Linked DNA regions of Homo sapiens: regions 1, 2 and 3 are each linked to region 4. The links are contacts of gene promoters, found by promoter capture Hi-C in blood cells and fetal thymus (Javierre and others, 2016). All regions are on one chromosome and are shown on one strand. Each heading gives the region's core, a stretch centred on a gene start or on the middle of the fragment in contact. The rest is flanking DNA. Distances are from core to core; before and after follow the strand shown.

Region 1 (6,289 bases), core at 2,183-4,682, 790 kb after region 4:
TATTCTTAGGTTTAACATAATCCCAAACTTCTTGGAGCCTTTGTTCATCTTTTAAGATTCTTTTCCTTTGTCTTTGTTGGATTGAGTTATTTCAAAAGCCTTGCCTTTGAACTGTGAAGTTCTGTCTTGTGCTTGCTTAATTTTATTGCTGAGACTTTCCAATGTATTTTGCATTTCTCTAAGTGTGTCCTTCATTTGTAGAAGTTGTGATTGTTTTTTATTTATGCTTTCTATTTCACTTAAGATTTTTCCCTTTGTAGCTTGTATAAGTTTTGTTTGTTTTTGTTTTTGTTTAAATTTCATTAAAGTTGGACTTCACATTTCTCTGGTGCCTCCTTGAATAGCTTAATAATTGACTTTCTGAATTCTTTTTCTGGCAATTCAGAGATTTCTCCTTGGTTTGGCTCTGTTGCTGGTGAGCTAGTGTGATCTTTTGGGCATGTTAAAGAACCTTGTTTTGTCATATTACCAGAATTGTTCTTCTGACTCTTTCTTATTTGGGTAGGCTATTTCAGAAGGAAGATCTGGGGCTCAAGGGCTGCTGTTCATATTTTTTTTTTGTCCCATGGGGTGCTCCTTGGATGTGGTGCTCTCCCCTTTACCCTAGGGATAGGGCTTCCTGAGAGCTTAACTGGAGTGATTTTGGTTTCTCCTTAGGATCTAGCCACCTAATGGAGCTACCAGTCTCTGGTCTGGTATTGGGGAGGGTCTGCACTGAGTCCTATAATGTGAACTGAACTGTCTCCAGGTCTCTCAGTTGTGGATACCAGCACTTGCTTCAGTGGACGTAGCAGGGGAGTGAAGAGGACTCTGCAAGGGTCCTTGGTTGTAGTTTTGTTTATTGCACCATTTTTGTGTTGGTTGGCTTCCAGCCAGGAGGTGACAATTTCAAGAGTGCATTAGCTGCCATAGTATAGGGAGGATCAGGTGGTGGGCAGGGCCCTAGAGCTCTGAAGAGATTATGTCCTTTGTCTTCAGGGTTTTTTGGCTGTCTCTGGGCACCTGCAGCAGCAATCCACTTCCTTCAGAGGGTCTGTGGATTCTCTCCGCTTTCCGGGTATGTTGCTATGGTAGTTCTTGGAGCAAAAGTTCACGATGTGAGTCTCCATACACTGCTCTGTCCAACCGAGTGGGAGCTGCAAGTTAGTCCTGCCTCCTATCTGCCATTTTTCCAGGGTTCTGATCATCTGTCCTTTCTTCTGTAGAGTCTTAGGCTGGGGAGGTGCAGGAGAAGGGGAAGTGGGTACCCTGATAATGCAGTTTTCCTGACCAGGGTCTCCAGTTCTTTGGGACTTTGAGCCAACTAAGACAGAGGCAGAGACAGGAGCTCCACGCCACCTGTTCTCTGCCCACATCACTGGCAGGGCCCCCAGGGACCTCTGCTCTTTGGGACCAACAGACACATTTGCTCTTCACTCCTCTAAAGTAGCCCTGAAGGCCGGGGCTTTCAGCCTCAGCCTCCTGTGGCCTCAGCCTCGCTTGTTGCAAAGTCTCAGGTATTTCACCTTCCTACCCCCAAGTGGGGAATCAGCTCGAGGAGTCAAAAGAGATGTTTCTTTTTCCACTCGGGTCACTGTCCAGTGTCCCCAAAGCATAGATGGATCCGAGGTGAGAACCTCTGTGGACTGAGAGAAGCAGTGGTGATGCATGTCCTTGACAAGCTGGGACTAGACTGGACACACCAGCTTCTGTCCAGATCTGCTTGCTCATCAACTTCACTTGGCTTCTGCTTTGCTCTGCACCCTGGTTCCGGTAGCTGCAGGGATATTGAACTCACATTTCAATGGCACTATCATGCCTTGGCCGCCAGAACCTAAACGTTAGAATCTGGCTCTTCCCTCTTCCCCTTGCCTCACTTTTCACCAAATCCTGATCATGCATCCTCTGCCACAGCGAGAGCTCTTTCCCTCCTTGCTGCCCTCCTGCCCTCTGCCTGGTTTAGCCTCATGGCTTCCTTCCTGCATTATTTTAATGACCACCTGCCTGTGTACCCCTCGTCCCCAGGCTCCCTCCTCCAGGGCACCTTCCCTTAGCAGTGAGAGAGATCTTTCCAAGGCATAGCTGGGGTCCCCACTTTCTAGGAAGAAAATGCAATGTCTCTCAAATAACATTCATAGGATTTTCATGGTTCTTGAGGGAGAAACGGGAATCCACATATCTCACCTGCCTTTATATACCAGAGAAGAGGCAGCAGACTGCCAATTCCCTGCAGAGGCCCTGGGATGGAAGGCTCCATCCCTGTCCTAGCCACTTGTTCTTCCCCTGCATCTGTGGCCTCCGGGCTAGTGTGCTCAGGGATCTGACTGCTGCCTTGGCACCCTCAGCCCCATCATCCTTCCCATGAAGTGCCCTTTCTCAATGAGTAGCCTCATCCACCACTGTCACCCAAACCCCAGGCCCATCCTTTGCTGTATCTTCCCTACTTATCCAGCTGGTTGAAGCTGCCTCTGAGTGCAGTTAATCTGCTCTTGGTGCCCTCTTGTCTCCTGGCCCACCCTCACCTGTGGATACCTGGCGCTGCCTCTCCAAGGCCATCCCTCCCACCAGTGTTTGCCTTACCCCTGTCCCCTGCCTCTCAAGTCAGAGGTAATCCCTGCTGCTGCTAGGGTGATCTGTCTAGTGATAAAATCCGACCTGCTGGTACAGCCTGCAAGCCTCACTTGGTCCTCCCCTCCCCTCCACCTCAGCTCCCAGCATCCTTGTGCACCTGTGGCCAACCATGCCCAGCTCTTTCTCATGTGCATTGGCCTTTGAACATGAGCTGTCTTTGCCTGGAGCATCTTTTCCCTCCTGACACTGGCAAGCTGCTGCTGGGCCTGCCCTTCTCAGCATGATTTTACCTCTCCCAGGAAGCTCTCCAGGGACCCTTAGGCTGGGTCTCATGTGCTGGCTCTTGCTTCCTCAGCACTCTGTTCATGCTGGAGAAATAAAGTGGCATAAAGTAGAGTCCTGCTCCTTAAGGTTCGAGTGTAGACCTCTGACTGCTCCTGCAACAATCACTTCTATCACCAGCATCAGCAGGTTTTCCCTTGCCACTGCATCTTTCCAACAGCACATCAGCTTGCAGTGAAAGCTTGGTCTTTAAAAATAGGAATATGAAGCTTGTTTCCTGCCTCAGGACCTTGTTCCTGACCCTACTCCTTCCTGGATGGCCCCCGTGCAGGTCTTCTCAGGGTCATCTTGACTCCGCATCCCTCCTGCAACCACCATCCCACTTCTCTGCTCCTCTCTAAAGGAACATCTGCAGAAGTGGCATGTCTAATACCAAAATGTTGGTTCCTACCCCAGAACTGCCCCATCCCCACAGCCCTGTTCTACCTAGACAGGGTCCGCATCTCACGGAGGGCACTGCCATCTTCCTGTTTGGCCTTCCCACCCAGGAGCTCCTACTGCTGCCTACCCTACTTCCCATAGTGCTTGGGGTTATGATCTCCATGTGCTTCTACTCCAAACCACCTGTAGTTTCCTGTCCCTTCCAGAAGAAAATCCAATCCCAACACCGTGGCCTGTAAGGCCCTGACCACCTCCTGCCATGCCTTCACTTGCCCTGTTCCAGCTACACTGACTGTGAGATTCCTATAACATGAAGCTGTTTTTTCTCACTCCAGGACCTTTGCATTGACTCCACTCCTTCCTGGACAGCCTTCCAGGCTCTTCTCAGGGTGTCTCCCTCACATCGCTCAAGTACGTTCCCTCAGAGAGGCCTTCCCACACCTCCGGACCTGGTGTCCCTGGCCATGTCCTCTCCTGCTCCCTGAACACAGCAAGCTTCCTTCCATTCATATTATTTATCAGGACCTGAAATGGTCAATTTATTCACTTATTTATTGTCTGTTTCTCCTTCTGGAAATATAAACTTCCGGGCAGGGACCTCATGTGACTTATTTATCACCTAAACCCAGGGCCTGGCTGGTACTGGAGGAGCTGATGGGCCCTGGGGGTTCCTCCCAGCTTCATGACATGGCCCACCGCTGGCCTTCTGCATCAAGGCTGGGAATACTGTAGCCAGAAGGAAAATCTCTCTGTTAACATGGAATTAATAAAAGAATGCTTATACATGGTTGCAGGTAATATATATATAAGATAAAAATGACATTCTGCCGAGAGATAGAGAGAACCCATAAACTGTTTTTCCTGCATCCTTACATTGTCTTCATATGAAAAGAAAATTTTAACTGCTGGCTTACACACTAGTTTTAGATGTAAGCCACCATTTATGAGACCTTTTGGTAAGTGCTGAAGTAAAGTGATGAGCAGGAAACCAGGCCAGCATGTCCCGGCACCAAGAATGGGAGTGGCCACAGGGCAGCCTTCCCTGGAGAACTTGCTCTGATGCCCCGTGAAGTCCTGTGAGCTCTGGGGCCAGAACCTGGCCTGGTACCCCTGCGCCCCAGGGCTCTGCCCCAGTCCATGATTCTTTCTGGGATTGTCATGGACTTAACTCATTACCAAACACGCATAGCCCCTTGAGGAGTTTTGGCACACAAGGCATTTGGGATGTCTTGGGGAAGAAAATGAAATACTTTAATGTAATCAAAAACACAGGAAGCAGATGCCCCTGAAATATAATATGTTCTAGGAGCTGCTCCCCTGCTGTGTGGCCTTTCATGCTCTGCAATATTCCAATGCCTTTTTTTTTTCCCCACAGAATCACTCACATGTCACTTTGGTGAGAGGATGAGGCATTCAGATTGGGAGAACTTGTTGCTTTGTCAGCATTATTTTCAGACAAGAAGTTTTACTTCTTGTTTTTATATTTTGAGAGAACAATGTCTTACAACATTCAGGAATTAGTACTTTGCATTTTCAGGTTCACTTTGGTGCAGCCCTTAGGGTGCTTGTGGGTCTGGCCCAACCTTCCCTGGAATGAGTCTTCGGTTGAGGGGGCCTGACGTCAGCGCCCTGCAGGGTTCATCTGTGTCACCTAAAAGTGTCCGGCTGCTTGGCCTGGCTATTTCTGCTGAATGCACAAAAATACATTTTGCCTTTTCTCCTTCCAAGTTGCAGTTTCTTTTCTGCAAATGAAGCAGAAGAAAAGTGCTGCATTGACATGATGAACTGAAAGCACACTCACTTCAGGGACATGTTTCTTCAGTTGGGAAATTCCTCTTTTATTTGTGACTAGTTGTTTTCTTTCCTTAGTCAACTTCCTTCAACCCTCAATGCATGTGACACACACACACACACACACACACACACACACACACACACACATAATCGGGGTGCCCAGAAGTTCCCAGGGCCCAGCACTGGCTCTCTGAGACTGTAGGCTCTGGGGGAGGGTGGGCTTTAGGGAAGGTGTCTGTCTAGGGTGGGGTGTGCAGGTGAAGAGCTGGGGTTGGCCTATGAGAGACCTGGGCCCCACTGGCTGCCCCTTGATGTCCTCTCTGATCTTGTCTTTTCCATCCATGAAACAGAGGTGAGCCACAGTGCCGAGCCCACAGGGGTGGGGAAGTCACTGTGCACAGCTCCAGGCACAGAATAGGTGCTGGGTGAATGTCAGGTGGGACTCCTCCCACTCAGGGAGAGTGTGAGGCAGTGGAGGAGAGGTGTCAAGAACCCCTGAAGCATCCTCCTGGGGAAGCCACTCACAGGAAAATGATGTGGATTTGAAATCTCTTGGCTCCTTCTTTTAAAGCCTCCTAGGACCCCACATTTGATGTGCAAGCTCAATTCTGCAGCCAGACCCAGAGTGCCGTGCTCCCTCTCTCTCCTTATTAGCAAGCAACCCAGTGACTCACTGCAACACAGTGCCCAGGATTGTAGGGACAAGTGGAGGGTGTCTGCACAGACTCCCTGGCCAAGGCACATGAGTGCTCCTCCCAGCCCTGCCCTCTGGCCCCCGTTTCAGAAGGGACCACTCGGGACAGTCAATCCAAGTGATGTGTCCAAGCAGGCCCTCCTAGGAGTTATCAGGGTGCAAATGCAGGTCATAATCACACCAGCCACCCACCCTTTGACCGCTGCTCCCCAGACACCCCCAACACCTGAGCCCTGCCGCGAGGGGTATGGCCAGCCTGCCATCTCCAGGAGTTTCCGGAGCACCCCAGGCTGGTCCATGGTGCTGGGTCCAGCCCTCAGAAAGACCTTTCCAGCAGGCTTGGATTCCTGCCTCTTGGGTGGTCTGATAAACTGTCCCCTGGCTGGTGTTTGGGCCAACTGTACCAGCTTCCATCTGATGTTTCTGGCAGAGGAATTCTTGAGGCCTCTGCACCTCGTTAGCCCTCAGAATGGGACTCACTAGGCTCAAGTGTGGGTCATTACTCGGATCTGTGAGCTTGTTGCTGTG
Region 2 (6,025 bases), core at 3,239-5,738, 660 kb after region 4:
TAAGGAAAAGAAAGGATTAAATTTGATTATTAGTAAATTAGAACAATTTACTCCAGGGAGGCTGAAAATGGATGAAATCGCTCCCTTTGCCCCTTTAAATATCACAAAATATAATTAACTTGGATTCAAATGCACACATCAAAAAGCAGGAGCATTTATGAGAGTTGTGTGATGGGATTTGATGTGAAAGGAATCCATATAAAATGTTCCTTCCCCAACCACTGGGCCTGGAGGACATCAATCAGTCCCATAGTGATGGTGCCATCCAATGCCGGGGATAAGAGATCACACTCAAGGACTCACCATGCTTCTCAGAGGACAGGTCAGAAAGTTCCCCTGCCTTCCGTGTGGATAGCAGTGTGGAACTTACAAGTTGCATTACTTTACAGCCGCTCTTTTGTTCCCACTCATTTTAAAGCTATGAAGGAAGTTGAATGAGGCAGCCATGGTTTCAAGGAATTGGGTGACTTGCCCAAGAGAGCAGAGAAAGTCACTAGTGAAATTGACCTTAGTTCCCTTATGAAGATCTTCTAGCCTGGCAATAGCACACACTGATGCTGGACTTGAAACTTGAGCAGCAGGGTATGAGCTGAGTCACAATGTTTGGCACTAGTAAAAGGCCAGCCCACAGAAGTTGGGATGCTGAGAAGAATTGGAGAGTGGGGCAAGGGAGAAGAAAAGTAGAAGACAATGCTAAGAAACTAATAACCTCTTTTACAAAGTGGAGTGTTGAGAGTCTGTCAAAAGTTGTCGTAGTCCGTTTGTGTTGCTATGAAGGAATACCTAAGGCTGGGTAATTTATGAAGAAATGAGGCTTATTTGGCTCATCGTTCTACAGGCTGTACAGGAAGTGTGGTGCTAGCACCTGCTTCTGATGAGGGCCTCAGGAAGCTTACAATCATGGCAGAAAGTGAAGGTGGAGCAGGTGTGTCACATGGCGAGAAAGGAAGCAAGGGAGGGGAGGAGGTGCTAAGCCATTTTTAACAATCAGGTCTCATAGTAACTAACTGAGTGAGAACTAGAAGAGTGCCCACAGGAGGGCACCAAACCATTCATGAGGGATCCATCTCATGACCCAAACACCTACCAGAGGCCCACCTCCAACACTGGGGGTTCACATCTCAACATGAGATTTGGAGGGGACCAACATCCAAGCTAACTCAAAAGTAAATGGAAATAGAAAGAAAAGGATGAGTGTATTATTTGAAGTTACAATATTATCAAGAGAGATGCTAGAAATAATCTAATTCTCAAACATTTCAAAGAACAGAGGCGGGAAAGGTTTGGTTGTCAGGCAAGCAAATCTTCTATATGCTTGACGCGATGTGGATAAATAGGTCAACAGAGATAAAGCATTTTATTTAGAACTGTGGGATAGGCCTCAGGACAATTACTAAGAGGAATACTAAAAAATCTCTGTATTGTGGTTCTGGGCTGGGGTGGCATCTGGTGAGAGGCTGCTCTTTCGTATTATAAACCCTTTGTAATATTGTATTTGATTTGTTGCTATGAATGTCTATTACTTTAATTTAAAAAATGACACAAGATCAATTTTCTGTATTTCCAGCATAGAGACAGTTGCTGTCTTTTCATAAAGAACGTTTTAAAGAGAAATCCCTACAGAAATAATAAATAACATGCTTGTCATTCCTGACTCCCAGGGTACATGGTTGCTTTAAAACATAGGTTTTATTCATTTAGGTGTGGCAAGGCCAACAGATAAGGAGGGGACTGCTGTTGAACAGATAGTCTGTCATGCACAGATCTGGAGAGGAGGTACATGCCTTGCCATGGGGGCCACGCTGTGCCATGGGGGACCACATGGGGAAACTCCAGTGTTGGTTAGAAGTGTGGGGGGAACTGTAGCAAGAGCCTTTAATGTGGTTTTTGTGAGAAGGAACCAGCAAGGCAGTACAAGTAGACTTAGAATGGACTACTTTGAATAATTTTAGTGGGCTCTGGACACAGGGGTGTCATGAGTTGCCTGGTGCCTGGCCCTGGGGTGATTAGGGCAGGTGGCCGTGGCCCAGAGGGTGAGAGCCCAACGGAGGAGGTGGTTGGGAGGGCTCTGGAGTGGTTGGTTTGCATTGGAAAGCTGTGCTTGCTGAAGTCATTTACCATCTCTAGGGACTGGCCAGCCTGGGAGGGGCAGTCCCTCCAGGCCCAGCAAGGCACCGAGATTTCTACACCTTTTGAAATAGTTTAGTCAAAAAGCACCCAGTGTCTATTTCTTGCAACTGCAAAAACAATATTAAAAAGAAAGCACTGATTGCTAGATATTGCCACCCTAGGTAGTGGTCACAAAGACCATTAGCCCCTGAACCCTCATGGATGGTTGTTAACAGAATCTTCTGTTTCTATCTCTGCTGTCCTTTCAGCCTTTCCCATTGTCCCCTTATCTGCCTCTGAACCAGAACAACATGCATAGTTCATCCAGTGGGCAGTGCGTCCTCAAGGTGAGTAGCTCTCCTGGACCTAAGTCCTTGCACGGCGAGCAACCTTCTGGCTTGCACTTGGCCACTGCAGAAAAAGGGAATATGCCAATCCTTTCCATGGGAGCATGGGACATCTCAGAGCTCATTAACAATTGATGCTTTGGTTACATATCAACTTTGTGTTTTTCATTATCACAAGCTAATTCCCACGCCAACATTTTGGATCTCTAAGCAACTGGCAGGGTTAAGCTTAGCATCCTGGCTGATATTTGGTTGCTATCACTTCAATGTTAATAATAGTTTCAGTCAACCAGCTGGCAATATGGTAATTAGATAAAGCCTAGAAACAGGAAAAGACAGTAAAGGTGTCAACCTGGGACAGGGAAGCAGAGTGGCAGCCTTCTCTGTGAACCTACCTAGCTTGGCTAAATTTTCATAACACAAACACATACAAGAACACTCTGCTATTAAAAAAAAAATCTGGGGCCCATCAGCTTTCTTCTCATTTTTCCAGTGAATGGTTGGCAGAAATCTTCCAAACTGTCTACTTGACAATTTGTTTAAAAGTATAGTTTTGCAGCTGGGTGATTTGTTTGCTCTTTTTCCCTCCAAGAATCAAGTGTTACAATCAGGGATAGCTTGTTATGATGGAAGCCGTGCGGGCAGTTTGGATTTTCATGGGTGTCCCCACCCTGCTGGCAGGCAGCTGGCTTTGGAGGCCTGTCCTGGATCCCTCTCACTGACTGCATCTCCCCTCCCCTGGTCCAGGCTCCAGTTTACATGGCTCTGCCATTGGGAAGTGGAATGGCAAAGCATATGCGGCCGTGCTGCTCAGCCAGGTACAAATAAGAGTTGTGTTGCTGCTCATCTGGGGCTGCTGGCTGCCTAGAAAAATGAAATAAAGTGAGTTTGTAACAAGCAAAGTCCTGTGAATTGTGGCCTCTTTCAATCATAAACAGACAGTTTATCCACTGAAAAGATCATATGGCCCAAATAATCAGAGTGACTTTGGAAGAGTAATCCACGTGGTTTTATATTAAAGAGGGGGAGGGAGGGAAGGAGGTGGCGGGGGGAGGGAGAGAGAGAGAGAGGGAGAGAGAGCAAGCCAGATTTCTCCACAGAAACAGAAACGATAGGATATACAGATATAGTTGGATGAGGAGAGCTGTTGTGAGAATTGGCTCACTCAATTATGGATGCTGAGAAATTCCAGGCCACGCCATCTACAAGCTGGAAGCAGGTCCAGGCCAGTCCAAAGGCCTAAAATCCAGGGAGGAAGGGGACTGGTGTAAGTCCCAGAATCCAAAGGCCTCAGAACCAGGAGCTCTGATGTCTGAGGGCAGGAGAAGGTGGATGTCCTAGCTCCAGAAGAGAGAGACAATTCACCTTTCCTCTGCCCCATTGTTCTCTCTGGGCCCCCAACAGGTTGACCAGTGCCACCTACATTGGTGAGGGTGGACCTTCTTACTCAGTCCACTGATTCAAATGCTCATCTCTTCCAGAAACGCCCTTACAGACACACTCACAAATAATGTTTTACCAGCCATCTGGGCATCCTCACCGCAGTCACGTTGACACCTAAAATTAACCATCTCAGAAAGCCAAAAGGTGGCTGGGGACGCGGGGGCAGCATCAGCCGGCTCCCCGCCCCCTGACCAGGAGAAGGTGCGCACCGTAAGCACTCCACCCTCCCATTCGGCCTCTGGCCCCAGGTGCAGCCACTGTGGACTCACCCTGCCTGGTGCGGAACACTCCCTCCCTGTGATGTGCAGTCCGCAGATGGAAGCCTGGAGGGCCCACACGCTTCCGAAGCAGGGTGGCCCTAGGCTGGCTTGTCAGCGGAAGCTGTCTAGCGGGGATATGGCGGTGGCAGAAGTGAGGGGGCTGAGGGGCGGGGCGGACTTTAGCAGGAGGATAGAGGGGAATGTCCTTGTTTCATAAAGCTGAAGTGTGCCCAAGCAATGTCCCGGTATCTCTGTGAAAGGTTGGCTGCCTGGTGTGACTGAGAGACCGGAGATTTGGCCCTGGAAGGTCAAGTGTGGTGGTCTTTTTCTTTTTTCCACTTTTTAACCTTTTTCTACTGTGGGGAGATCGCCCAAGATTACTGAATTTGCTAACCCCAGGGGAAGTAGGCATTTGAGTCTAACAGCGCCATCCCTCCCTCCACAAAACCCTGTAGAGCAGTGTTCGCTCTATGACGTGTGAAGGTGAAAAGCCACTCAGGAAACCAGAGAGATTTGGCACTAAAATATATGTTTTTCGTAACCAGGGCAGGTTGGGCTTCCCTTCATCACACACCAACAGATGCACACGGAGCCCCGCGCGGCCCATTCCTGAGGGCGGATTCCCCAGGGCAGGGCGAGAAAGGCCCTCGGGCCCCTGCCTGTGTGCCCATCTCTCCATCCTAGGTCGAGGATGAGCGGGTGTGCGCAGGCCCAGCGTGGGAGAGGCAGGCAGGCCAGGAGCGGCCCGCCAGAAAGGTGCAAGGGAAAGCCCCAGAGGCGGAGGGGAAGGTGAGAACCCGGGGCGGTGATGCTGCACGCCCCTGGGGGACTGCATGGAGAAGGGGAGGGTGCGCGGGGCCGGCTGGTCCAGTGCACTCCGGCGCGGCCCCGGCACCCGTGGGCACCGCCATGTCCTTCGCTCAGCTCCGCCGCGGCTACCTGCGGGGTCTGCGCGGCTGCGGTGGCCAGGTGAGGACGTCTCTGCCCTTGCGCGGCCTGCGCTGTATGCTTCCTGCCTGGCCCGCGCTTCCCCTGCCTGCATCACCCGCTGCCCGCGCGGCTCGGAGCGCGCCCTCTGCTGGACCGGCCACGGCCGGCGGGCGGCTGCCTCCAGGCTCCACCACAGGAGGGGGAGCACGCGCCCTGCTGACCGCACGCCCACGTGATATCGCCTTCTGCCATCGCAGAAAGCAGCGGTTCAGCCTCTCTGCCTGCACACTTGCGTGATGGGGAGCTCACAAGCAGTCCACTGCATTGCTGTCAACGCTGACCATTAGAAACAGCTTCCTTATGTTGAGCCCTTTGTCGCTCACTCCATTTGTCCTACCTCTGCCCTCCAGGTCTCGCCTGCAAAGGGCTTAGCTTCTCATGACAGCACTTAAAGCATTTCAACACAGCATTAGCACCACCTAACCCCAGTTCTTCTGCTCTGCCCAAACCTCCCCGGGCCCTCCAATCATTGTGGTATGATGTAGCGTCACCATTCAGATGACTCACGTTAGGACACAAACCATCTACAGAGTCCCTTCTCCACTGTGGTGCCCAGGAGTACACCTGAGCCTGCAGGTAGGGTCTGCCCACTGCACAGGACGGGACGTCGCCTGCGGGACTCTAACCGCTGGCCTTCAGACACACAGGCAGAGGTCACAGCAGTCGATGTGCCAGAATCTTCACACTTCTCATGCGCTCTGAGTTTAGGTTCAATTTTTATTCATTTTCATATGTTCTACTAAGTAATCCCATCCCTGAATCCATCCAGCGAACATTTAATTCCTAACGAGTGCCAGACAGCTGCTATTATTGCTGTTCAGTCTAAGGGTGTATCTTCAGTTTCTGCACTAAAGTTCATCCTGGCTTACCACGTCC
Region 3 (5,991 bases), core at 3,454-5,953, 760 kb after region 4:
GCCCATGGTTGACCATTCCCTTTCTCAACCCTGTCTTTAAAGGTTGGCGCAATACTTTCAGCATGTGAACACCACATGGGAAAGAAGCTGGCATTGAACTTAGGTTTCCAGAGCATCTATTATGGTCTGCACCCTCCTGGGAAACGGGTATATGTTATCTATGGTAATTGACACAAGGATACTACGAAACAGGCGATTTTATCACCATTTGTTAAATTAAGAAAGAAATTGGCTTAAGCAATGTAAGTAACTCACCCAGCTCACCCAGTGAGTGGCCGGGATGAATCTGGGCTGTCTGGTCAGAGCCTGTGAGAGCCACACTGCCTGCCTTTGTCAGGTGGCAGCTCCTCCTGCTGTGTTCTGGGGAAAGTGCTGGGGAAAGTCAATTAACGGCACTGGACCTGGCCTGCGAGCCAGCATCCTCACTTGCAAATAAGGCTGAGTGGAGCCTTTTGATGCAAAGATTAAGTGTATGTGAAGGTGCCTTGTAAACTGTGAAGTGGCATGCACTTGGCACACTGAGGTGTCAGGATGCTTACCGTCTCGGCTGGTCAGTACACAGGATTATGAAGATGACAAGGGCAAGCCCCGCTTGCTTTACATTTATTTTAAAAGCCCCTCTAGCATGAGACAATAAGGTGAACCGATGGCTCCTCATTCCACTCCCTGAATGCAGCTAATTTTTCATCTGCAGGCAGGCAGTTTTGCAAACAAGGCTCTGAACTTGAAGCTCAGAGGGTGAGCGAGGCCTCGTGCCCCCAGGGCCTCTGCTTGCTCCATGTTGGTGCCCCAACGTCCAGGGATGCAAAGCACAGAGGACCCTTAGAGGCCACACCTGGAAGTGCTCATTCAATGGACCGAGGGATGAAAGTGAGGAGAGCGTTAGGGGAGCTGTGCACAGTAAGTAGGGGCTGGAATGGGATGTGACCCAGGACATCCTGGTTAGATTTGGCCAGGAGAGCTGTGAAAATAGGGGAAGCTGGTCCCCAAACCCCACACCCTTTTAAAAAATCAATCCTGGTGGGCGCAGTGGCAGAAGGACCTGAGTTTGTTACAAAGACCTCAGCAATCCTCTCCCTCTCCTGACCTGTAAACACCAAGAGCCGGAGACAATGCAAGTGTCAGACGCTTCTCCACCCGCAATGAGGCCTGGGAAGCCCAAGTTGATTGGCTTTCTTTCCAGGAAGGCAGAGCCCAGACGCACTTCAAGGTGGGTATTTCTGTTTGTTTTCTCCTCAAGGAAAGCACAGCTGAAGGGCTCACGTATTCCACACCCTCTTTTCAAGGCTCATTAATAAGGAGCCCAGGGCAAAATCATACATGTGGCAAACTCCACAACCACCAAGGCCGGCAGAGCAGTGAGAGCTGCATTAATGGGGAATTTCAGTGAAATGCCGCCCAGCTCCTAAATTCATACCAGATGAGTTCCAGAAGATTAAAGTTATTACAATAAAGCCCCAGGGAATCAATCACGCTCTGCCTTGTAACCTTCTTGGTTTTCTGCATCATTCACACAAACCACTTTCTGCAGGGCACTGGGGTGTTCCCTAGCTGGGCTGGACCCACAGGCCCCAATAAAGCACTTCAGGTTAGAAAGCCTAGCAAAAGGACAGGCTTGGTTCAGGTAAGTGGCTGGGGTCTGGCAAGTGGCTTGTTTAGTGACCAGTGACAATGCGGTGTGGGAGCCCAGTGGGGAAGGGTGGGCTCCCTAACCCCCAGCCTGCCTGAGGCATGCCCCTGGGGGTGGTCACTGTTGGAACCTTGATAAAAAAACAGCCTGAAAGTTGGAAAGTGTCTTGGTAAAGAGTAGAACACGGCACAGTTCTCTTTGATACTGTTTTTATGTTTTCATTTTTTATCCTTTTTTTTTCCCAAAGTGCCTCCCAGCCATCCAGGTTCAATCTCAAGTCCTTGTATGCTCAACCAGGCTCCTGGTGAGCCAGTGATCCTGCGCCATTCTCCCCCAGAACCCCTGGTGGCCACCTGCACTGTCCCTGAACTCCTGTCCCCGAGTGTGAACACAGTCCTCATTCTGCATTACACCCCTGGGAGCAGGCATCAGCTCTCTCTGCCTCCACTTCTATGAGAGTTCCAGATGATAGAGGTGCAGAATAATTCACTAAAGAGTCTGCAACCTCTAAGGCCCAGACCTGCCCTGTGGTCTCTGCCCCAGCCATCTGCTATCTCCCTCCCAAATCCAAGCTCTACAAAAGTTCCAAGTTTGTCCACGTTTTGGTGTTCAAGCCCCCAAACTCTCTGCCCCATCCTGAATGCTCCTTCCTGCTTCGCAATATTGAGTAGGACCATCCATTCCCTTCAGAGAAGTCCCACACTCAGCTTCAGAAATGTAGCTTGGTCCAGTGACCAAGCAAGATATTCACAAAGCTGACTGACACAGGTGCATTTCACACTTCTTATTTCTTTATTCTTATTTATGATAATATTTAACTTAGGATCAATGCTCAGCGTTTGTGAGAGCTATCTGGAGTTTCCTTTTTCTGTGCAACTTTTTTTGGTTTTGATGTCAGAATTCTATTAGCTTTCCAAAGAAGAATCTACAGACTCTCCCCTCCCCCAACATTCTTGCTCTTGGTCAGTTTAAACAGAATTCAGCATTTGAAAAACCCCATCCTGAAAACACTGAAGCCAGTGCTTTTGAGGGCTGTAGTTCTTTTACAACTGTTTGATTTGCCATTTAGGCATTCCTATCTCTTCTTGAGTCCATTTCGATCATTTGCATGTTCCTAGAAAACGGCTTTTCATTCAGGTTTTCAGAGTCATTGATATGTTTAAGTAATTCTGTTTTCTTCTTTTTCGTACTCTGGTTATTTGTACTTTCTCATACTCTGTTTCTTTGCCCCCTGCCTCCTTCCCTCCCCCTTTCTCTCTCCTTGCTTTCTTTTTCTTTTACTTGTTTTTGTTTTCCTTGACTGGGCGAATTAATATTTTGTTGCACTCCATTTTGTTTCATTCTATTCCATTCTCCTCCGCCACCAAAGACATACCTTTCATGTCATGGTCAATTGTATGAGGCTTTTCTGTTGTCACTGTGATTCTATTTTTAATATTCTTTTTAGTGACCTTAATCAAAAGAATTATTATGTAAAATACCTAGTTCATTTGTTTTTATTGGTTCATATTTTTACTGAAAATATTAATGGCTATATATTTTTCTATGAACACAGCTTTAATAGTATTCCAAAGATTATGAAAAGGAATATTGATTTTAAGGAAATTCCATGAGGGACTTTCAGTTTTTCTCTCACTGAAGTATTGTTTAGGGAAGAGCTTTTAAAAGTTCAGAATTGTTCTGTGTTATTATTGCAATTAGTAAATTTTGTTTTGCATTTTTAGTTTTCCTTTATTGATGTTAAAGAAGGTGGTTTTTGTTATTTTTCTTTTTCTTTTGAGTTTGAGGTTTTCTTTGTGAACAATAGAAAAGGATACACATTTTCTGTACACAAGGCATGGGGACATATATAAAATGTCATACATGTTTATATGAATATATGTGTGTGTTATATATATGATCAATCTATTAATGGAATTATTTGGATTCTCTGTTTCACTCTTCCTTAATTTCTTGACATACAGGATTGAGTGAGAGAGCTACACTGAAGTCTTCCAATGATTTTGTGCTTTGTCAAATTTATCCTTTTATTTGTTCCAGTTTTTGCTACATTTATTAATGCTATGATGCTATATAGTAAATAAAGGTTCTTGACAGCTATATCTTTAAATCAATCAAGCAATAAATATTATAAAATATTTTATATTTTATGTTGAACATTTATGTCAAATACAATATTTTTTATATTGAACACAATTTCAATATTTTTTGGTCATGAATGTAACTGTGTATAATATTGATACTCAGCTTTCTATTTGTTTACATTGAATTGGAATATTTTTGCTCTTCATTCTGCTTTCAGTCTTTCTAAGTTCCTTTATTTTAATTTCATATTTTGTAGAATACAAGTAACCTGGAATTAGGTTATTTTGTTTTGGTCCTGACTGATGTCCCTTCTCCTTTGGGTTAGGCTTATACACTCATATTTATTGCATAAGATATACACTGTAAGACCTAGCTTTGGTGTTTCTACTTGAAAGCTTCCTTGGTTTTTAATGTTTCTGTCTTTTGAACTAGAGTCTGTGTTCTGCCTCCTAAAAAACATCACCAGTAATTAAGAAGCAAGAATGTCGTTTTTACACCAAAATGTTGATTTTAAGCTTCACATGGTGAAATTAGATACGATGTTGTATAACATTTGGCACCTTGGTGAGAAGTCAGATTAGAAAATTGCCCGTGGCTCTGAACTTTCTGTGATTTGACTTCAGTGTATTTTTCCCAATAGAGTCACCTGTTGCCTATTACAATGAAGTTAGATGTCTCCTGACCTCAGCCCATCCCCTGTTGGATAAAAAGTTTCTGCTTCAGTCTTGCTGTCCACGCCCGTGGAAGAAACTACAATAGGGGATTTACTCTCCTGGCCCAAATCAGGTCGAGCTTCTGGGCCTCCCTACTCCATGCTGGGGGATACTGGACATTCAGAGTGCCTTTCTGTCAGCCCCGCAACACAGCCCCACTGGGGTGGCTGACTGTGCTGACCTTGTGTCTCTGAGCTCAATTTCAACTGGGGTGTATCTGAGGGTTAGTCTTCAGAGAACTTGGAATGAGGTAAGACTTTCCTAGTTCCATGTAGGTGATTATTTTTCCTTTTGTCTATATTGAGTTATTTTGGTTCATTTGAGAAGTAACTGGGCAGGAGGCTTGTTGACATTTACTTGAAATGCCATCCTTTGTCACCTCTAAATCAATCTGTCCTCTTCTCCGGGATGGTATCTCTTTGAAACAAGAGTAGTTTCATTTTCAAGGTCGGGGCTCTAGCACCTAGCCCAGTGTGTGGCAGGCAGGGAGTGCTCAGGGCATGTTTGTGGGGGCTTTTCTCAACAGTGTGCAGGGCTGAATGAGGGAGTGGAAGCCTCTACTCTGCAGCAAAGATAAGACAATTATGATCAGCCTCTGAATTCCCATCACCATTGCCAGCAGCTGGGCCATAGGCACTTGTGCAGCCACATGGAATACCTCCTTTGTTAGAAGTACCCAGTTTGGACACTGTGGCCCTTTGGTTAGCTTTCATTTTCATTGTATCTCTTCATACATTTTTAGATTAAAAAAAGCTTTATTTAATAAAAATAAAACATTATTTCTTTAAAGCAAGCATTTAAAACATTTAGTGTGTACTTCTTCTGATATTGATTTTTTATTAAAAAAGACCAGAAATTCCTTGGAAAACATAATTAATGGCCAATGTTGAGGATGGAAACTTTAACTTTCACTGAAGAAGAACCATTTTCAAGTTCATATAGACAGTAAATTAGCCTCTGGAGCAATGACACTGTACTCAAGAGCCCCAGCCATCTGGAGAAGTGGTTTCCATGCGAAAATTTACAGTTGCATGGTTGTATTTTAGTGCTTTCAGTTTGGTTTCTCTTGAGAAATTTCCTTCTTTTGGTGAAGTTATTTAAATTTGGACATGGCTTACATGGCAACCAGAATTCCAAATTCTCATTATAAGGGAGTCAATGCCTTGGCCATATGTTCATGATTTCTCCTGTTGATAAAGTCTCCTGATGAATAAATACCCATTTTTTTCTAAAGGAAATTGCTATTCCAAATTTGATAAGAGTACTTTGAGTTTCTATTTCAATAATTCTGACAACCCTGATGGAGAAATCACTTTATTTTCTCCCTCCCTCTTTTTCTTCATTGTCATGAGTGATCAATGAATTAATCAGTTTAAAGAAGTGAATGTTGCATCAGTAAGAAGATAATTTTGTACATGTCTGTTTCTCTGCTTGGTAATTTTTTATTGTTTAGAAGTAGAAGATGGATTAAAAAGATAAAAGCCATCAGTGTAATATACAATATAAGGCATATGGTAGTTTGTCATTAATAAATATCCCACATCATTTAGGTTTTGCTTTGGT
Region 4 (6,105 bases), core at 2,859-5,358:
ATATCTTACATGTAATAAAATGCACGGATCTTAAGCATCGAGTTCAATGAATTTTGGTAATTGTTTAGACCCCTGCATCAACTGCCTGATGTCAGGTACAGAACATTGTTTTCACTCTGTAAACTTCCCTTGCGTGCCTTTCAAGTCAATCCTCACACATAGTTTTTCCTGTTCTGTGAAGGCACATAAGTGGAATTATACTATTTGTGTATTTGGCTTCTTCAACTCAAATAAAACTTTCAGATTCATCCATATTGTTGATGTACCACGTGTATGTTCTTTTTTATTGCTGAGTTGTATTTCACTGTATGGATATACTACAGTTTCTTTATCCCTCACCCATTGTTGGACATTTCTAAGTGTGTGGCTATTATAAATGAAGATGACATGAACATTCTTGTATACAGCTTCAAATGTTATTGTGGTATCTTTGGAATATTTTTGTATTATTAGAATCCAGTGTTTCCAAATTGTTTCAGTGCTCAAAGACCTTTGAAATTTACCTCTCTACATGGTAAAGATTTACTATTACAAGCTTTTTGGGATTAAGGAAGCAATAATTTATAGCAGGGGGTTCCCAACCCTGGGCCATGGATCAGTACCAGTCTGTGGCCTGTTAGGAACTGGGGCACACAGCAGGAGGTGAGTGGTGGGAGAGCAAGCGAAGCTTCATCTGTATTTACAGCTGCTGCCTGCTGCTCACATTACTACCTGAGCTCTGCCTCCTGTCAGATAGTGGCAGCATTAGATTCTCATAAGAGTGTGAACCCCATTGTGAACTGTGCATGCAACGGATCTAGGTTGTGCACTCCTTATGAGAATTTAATGCCTTATGATCTGTCACTGTCTCCCATCACCCCTAGATGGGACTGTCTAGTAGCAGGAAAACAAGCTCAGGACTCCCACTGATTCTACCTTATGGTGAGTACCTTATAATTGTTTCATTATATACTTCAATGTAATAATAATAAAGTGCACAATAAATGTAATGTGCTTGGATCATCCCAAAATCATCCCCCTCTGTGGGAAAATTGTCTTTATGAAACTGGTCCCTGGTGCCAAAAAGGTTGGGGACCACTGATTTATAGGATCCACTAGAAAGGATGGAATGGTGTCTTACCAAGAAAACCAAAATCTCTATCATTCATCATTTCACTTACATAAATGCTCAGTATGAAAAATTATAGAGATGGCTAAGATTTTAAAAAATGGAAATGGAAATTTCCCCTCAAAACCAATTTCTCCTCTGCAGCCTTCTTCAAATCTCATCCCCTGGAGGTCAGAAAAAAGGATGGGTTAGAATTCCAAATTTCTTGGTGTGTGTGCAGGAGGAAGAGGATAGTATTGTTGGAAAGTGGAAGTTCATTATTGACTACAAACTACAAGTCTGGGTTCAGTAATAACACTTATATCCTTTCTAGATAACCCAACCCCAAGATATTGCTGCTGTTACCAAAGAGGGAGTGAAGGTCTCTGAAAATGTAGGAGTCCCTTTAGTAGATGGGGAGAAATGGGTTAAAGATTTTTAAAAATTGCACAGACAGTAGTTGTTTGCTCTTTGGTTACAGGTGAATTATCTCTATCCTAGTTAGGAGTGGAGGACTGAAGTATGTCTCAATGCACAAACTAAGGCTGTGCAGGCTTGGAAAGAAATTTTCTTTTGTAATAAAAGGCTAGGCCCCTTGCTATAGACATGAGTGATTAGTTACAATAGGTTATTGGGGGTATCATCCAGGTAATGAAATGTTCAACAAGAAGATTATAAAGGTAACTAGATTTGCCCCATGGATTTTGCCCAGTGGTTTTGAAGGCAAAACAAGATTAATTTGAATATGTAAGGAAGAAAAATAACTTGGGATTGATGAGGGGCTGATTTTTTACATTTATAAAAGCCTGATGGTGTCAACTACAAATTTAAAATCTGTATTGGGTATACACAGAACAATCTCTAGTGTGGCACCAGATTAATGGGGGTACCTTGAAAAATCAGGTCAGAATAAAGTGACAGAAATTATAAAACATACATGATAATGATAATAAACAAGACATTTATTTTTCATACTCTTTTGGGGGAAAGGAAAAAAATCAGTTTGCCCTACCCAATGATGGTCTTTCTGAAAGATTCTCCATTCATTCCATAGAACTGGATAGGTTGCTTCATCTCAGAGGATTTTGTACTCTTAATTCATAAAGAGAACTTCTCTTCAGGAAAGTGGTCAAAGGGTGAGCCTCTGTGAGCAGCTTCGCTGGTGCACAGCCAGACTCCCTCTCTGGGTGAAGCTTTTTCCACACTGGCCGCACAGATAGGGTGTCTCTCCTGTGTGGATTTTGCCATGCAGAATACAATTCCCCCTGGTGTGGAAACTCTTCCTGCACTGGGTACAGGCATAGGGCTTCAGGCCTGTGTGGACTCTGATGTGAACAATTAAGCTTCCTTTCTGACTGAAGGCTTTTCCACACTGATCACATCTATAGGGCTTCTCACCACTGTGAACTCTCCTGTGAACAGCAAGGTTACTCTGATTCCTGAAGCTTCTCTGACAAATAGCACACTCGTAGGGTTTCTGTCCAGTGTGGAGTCTCTCGTGGACAGCGAGACTACCTCGTTGACTGAAGCTTTTCCCACACTCCTTGCACTGATAAGGCTTCTCTCCCGTGTGTATCCGTTGATGTGTAACAAGATTGCCTTTGGCCCTGAAGCTTTTTCCACAGTGGGTGCACTCAAAAGGCTTTTGACCAGTGTGGATTCTCTCATGTAACGTTAGACTACCTTTTTGCCGGAAGGATTTTCCACACTCCTGGCACTCATAGACCCTTTGTCTCACTCCAGGTGAATCTTCCTGTAGTGTCTTCGAATCTGGGGATTTTTGTTCCAGCTTCTCTCTTCTGAAAGAATTTTGGATATCCCAGCTTGAGGATCCTGTAGCCTCAGAGTGGTCATATTTGTGGTGGGCTTCAGTCATCACATCTGATAAAATGAGAGGGAAGTCATATAAGAAGCACCAATAATGCTGAGTTAGAATAGGGAAAAAGAAACATAATACTTTGAGTGCTTATGATGTGCCAGGCCTTATTCTTTGCATAGACAATGCAATCCTGAAAACAATGCCATGAGAGTGATACAGATAATGGGAGCAAAGGGAGCCTGTCAAAGGTCACAGAGCTAGGTAAGTTAGAGCTGACTCAAATAGGCATTCTCCATAGCAGTGTACTGCCTCTAAATTTAATTTAGGCCAACAAATAACCTTGTAAGATAGACATGGTTTTCTCTATTTTACAGGTCAGAAAACAGGCTCAGAAAATTTAGAAAACTATACAGAATCACACAGAGCCCCATACCCAACTTTTATCTGACTCCAAAACAGGTGTGGATCCAGGCTATATAAGGCCTAAAACTTTCCCATTTTAGAGGCACCCTTTTAAGAAAATGTATAAAATTAAGCACAGGGTCTTGGAGAGACCAATCCAAGTGAGGGGTCCTAAAACTGAAGCTGCATTTGCTTCTTCAGAAATCCACCTCTGTCCAATCTGTTCTGACAATAGAATAAGCACCATGACCTCAGAAAATATGTAGCACAATCCTGGGTACTTTACATCTATCATTGCTAATCCCTGCAACCCTACAAGATAGAACTTATTGTCCTATTTTACAGACGAACCTGGAGCTTAAGGAAGTTAAATAACCTGTCTGATACTGCAGATCTAGCCATGGCAATTATAGAATCTGATCCAAGGAATTTTTCCCATTAAAATCCTTGCTATTTTCAGTCTACTAAGCTATGGCAAAACTGAAATCAATTTTGGTTTGGAAGTTATTCTCTATGCAGATATTGACTTTTTTTTTTCCGAATACTGCCCTGCATCTGAGCCTCCTGGTGCACTTTAAATATGGGTCCATTCATCACCATTAACAGTTTTCTTGGTGTCTGTCACTCCAGGGTAATCTTCTCCTTGTTCCCTTGCCTTATTCAGAGACAGTGCTGAGATTTAAGCTGCTCATTCATTCTCAGAGACTACTTCAACGCTACCTCCATATCAAGATGGTTCTCTTGCTCTGTTTCTACTATTACTTCTAACTCCAGCTCACAGGCTTTTCTTATAACCCTAGGAACAGCAAGCTCTACCAAAGCAAGGTCTCCTCTGCTTCCTCAGACTGCCGACCAGTGCTGAGAACAGGGACACTGAATATCTGTGAGCTGAGCGCATCCAGCCATCAACTGACTCACTCACTGAAGAACGCTACATTCTGGGCATATCTTCCATGACAGTCCAGCAGGGTAGCTGTTGGAAATCCAAACATGTCCACTCCTGCTTACGACCTCAGTCACCACCTCTTCATATGATTCTTCCATGGGCTGTTCCTGAGCACCTGAGGGAGAAAAACAAACAGAAACAAACAGGAAAGGGCAGAATAATTGATATGTGAGAAGGAAAAAGTCAACAGTTGTTGAGACATAAGTGAATGTAAGAAACCTAGATTGTTTGACATAATGTCAGTTACTAAAATATCACTGCAAAATGGGCCCAAAGGTACCAGGACCACACACAAATGAGTCTAGGAGGAAGCAGGATGTGGGAAAGCAGAGAACACATAAACATATATCTCTTCCTGCCAATCCCAAGTTAATAGTCACTCCTGTTTACACTTTGGTCTTGGCATGTAATTGGGATCTTCCATTTTGGTTCCCCACCTAACCACCTACTACTTTCTTCCCTCCAAGCCCCAGAGGAATTCAGAATCTAAGAAAACAACATTTCAGCCTTCATGATTGGTTGGAGCCAATCAGCTCTCCAGTTATCTGTAGTTACAAAGACTTAACAAGAGAGTCCATTTGTTACCACTGAACAATTCTTAGGAGGCTCCAGACCCAGACTCGCCTTTCTCTTGCTCTTGAAGATACAAGAATACCAGTTCTGACCAAGTGTAAACACTTGTCAATTCTTGGAAAAGAAAGACCTACTCTGGACTCCAAGCCCAAGGCACTCCAACTAGGTTAAGTAACTTGCCCAGAAACCCACAGAAAATAAGGAGTCAAAGTGGAGCAAAGGTTCAAATCCAAGACTTTCTGGATCCAAAATGTATGCTCTTACATTAGACAGTTGTCTAGTTCCTAATCACTAAAGAGCTGGTCAGAATGCTTATAAAATTGAACAGAAAGGAAGAGAGTTTGACCAGATTGAAGTGCTCTTTCAGATCCTAGGAATCCTCTTGTATGTGCTCTAAATTATTTTTTAATTTTTTTAAAATTCTGAGTCAAGATTTTGCTCTGTTGCCCAGGCTGGAGTACAGTGACTCAATTACAGCTTGCTGTGACTTTGAACTCCTGGACTCAACGGATCCTCCCACTTCAGCCTCCCAAATAACTAGGACTACAGGTAAGCACCACCAAGCCTGGCTAATTTTTAAAAATTATTTTAACTTTTTTTTGTAGAGATCGGGTCTCATTATCCTGCCCAGGCTGGTCTCCAACTCTTGGCCTGAAGTGACCCTCCTGCCTCGGCCTCCCAAGACATGTAGGCATGAGCTACTACACCTGGCCCACATGATCTATTTTTTAAAAAAAATATTTCTTCTTACTTCAGGATCCTAATTACTGAATTCTTATACTTTTAAGAAATGCAGTGGTTCAATGCATACTCCTTGTTTCCCTCTAATTTGTCCTATCAAAATGCTGGCCTTCTGATTTAATGAAATAATAGTATGATGCTACCATTCTTTGTTTTGTCAACCTAAGCACCTGGTTCTTCTTGACAACTGCACATTCTGCTACATGCTGTGATGACCAGGAGAATCATTTAAATTTTTATTTGGAGGACTCACTTCCAACTTGGAACACAAGCTGCAAAGGAATTCCCTACCAGCATGCCAGCACATCATTTGGAAGTTCAAGGTATTCTTGCTCAACAGCTGCACACACATTAAAAGTCCCTGGGGTACATGGCGCCTGCTGCCTGGGGTTGGACTCTGTCGCCGGGGATTCCAGAAATTAGAGTAGAATTCACAGCTCTGCCTCTCCACCTGCTGTGAGGTCTTCAAGTTACAACTCCGCCGCCTATCAGGGACCTCCGTGATTAGTAAGGGAGAAATTGTCATATTTTTCTCCC

What was found. Contacts are between HindIII fragments. The CHiCAGO score rates a contact against its expected background, and 5 or more counts as called.
Region 1: a fragment that was not itself captured here is called in contact with the fragment with the promoter of ZNF32-AS2 in region 4 in 1 of 17 cell types (M0 macrophages); the score reaches 5.5 in M0 macrophages.
Region 2: a contact is called between a fragment that was not itself captured here and the fragment with the promoter of ZNF32-AS2 in region 4, in 2 of 17 cell types (megakaryocytes and total CD8 T cells). The highest score is 6.2, in megakaryocytes.
Region 3: a fragment that was not itself captured here is called in contact with the fragment with the promoter of ZNF32-AS2 in region 4 in 1 of 17 cell types (megakaryocytes); the score reaches 5.1 in megakaryocytes.

The regions. Positions count from the first base shown.
Region 1 is chr10:44,433,698-44,439,986 of GRCh38, forward strand. No RefSeq gene overlaps it. Among named protein-coding and RNA genes, the nearest start is that of CXCL12, 52 kb to the left of the region's middle. The HindIII fragment of the contact is 667 bases long and covers 3,100-3,766 here.
Region 2 is chr10:44,305,952-44,311,976 of GRCh38, forward strand. The region is part of intron 1 of LOC124902544 (a long non-coding RNA gene); the gene reads right to left. Among named protein-coding and RNA genes, the nearest start is that of LINC02881, 16 kb to the left of the region's middle. RefSeq lists enhancers at 1,704-1,913, 4,864-5,366 and silencers at 3,934-4,103, 4,948-5,277. The HindIII fragment of the contact is 3,613 bases long and covers 2,683-6,025 here.
Region 3 is chr10:44,398,115-44,404,105 of GRCh38, forward strand. It overlaps LOC107984179 (a long non-coding RNA gene), which reads left to right. Exons shown (of 3, transcript XR_001747298.2): 2 at 43-163; 3 at 695-3,734. Among named protein-coding and RNA genes, the nearest start is that of CXCL12, 16 kb to the left of the region's middle. RefSeq lists enhancers at 697-1,441, 1,442-2,186, 2,187-2,930. The HindIII fragment of the contact is 951 bases long and covers 4,229-5,179 here.
Region 4 is chr10:43,641,834-43,647,938 of GRCh38, forward strand. It overlaps ZNF32-AS2 (ZNF32 antisense RNA 2), which reads left to right and starts at 4,109. Exons shown (of 3, transcript NR_047558.1): 1 at 4,109-4,464; 2 at 5,279-5,376; 3 at 5,736-6,105. ZNF32 (zinc finger protein 32) reads right to left here. Exons shown (of 3, transcript NM_006973.3): 2 at 4,231-4,369; 3 at 2,029-2,968. The coding sequence starts at 4,300. The coding sequence ends at 2,217. The region is part of intron 1 of ZNF32-AS3 (ZNF32 antisense RNA 3); the gene reads left to right. ZNF32-AS1 (ZNF32 antisense RNA 1) reads left to right here and starts at 2,039. Exons shown (of 2, transcript NR_047557.1): 1 at 2,039-2,274; 2 at 3,017-3,214. RefSeq lists an enhancer at 3,803-5,002. The HindIII fragment of the contact is 3,514 bases long and covers 2,699-6,105 here.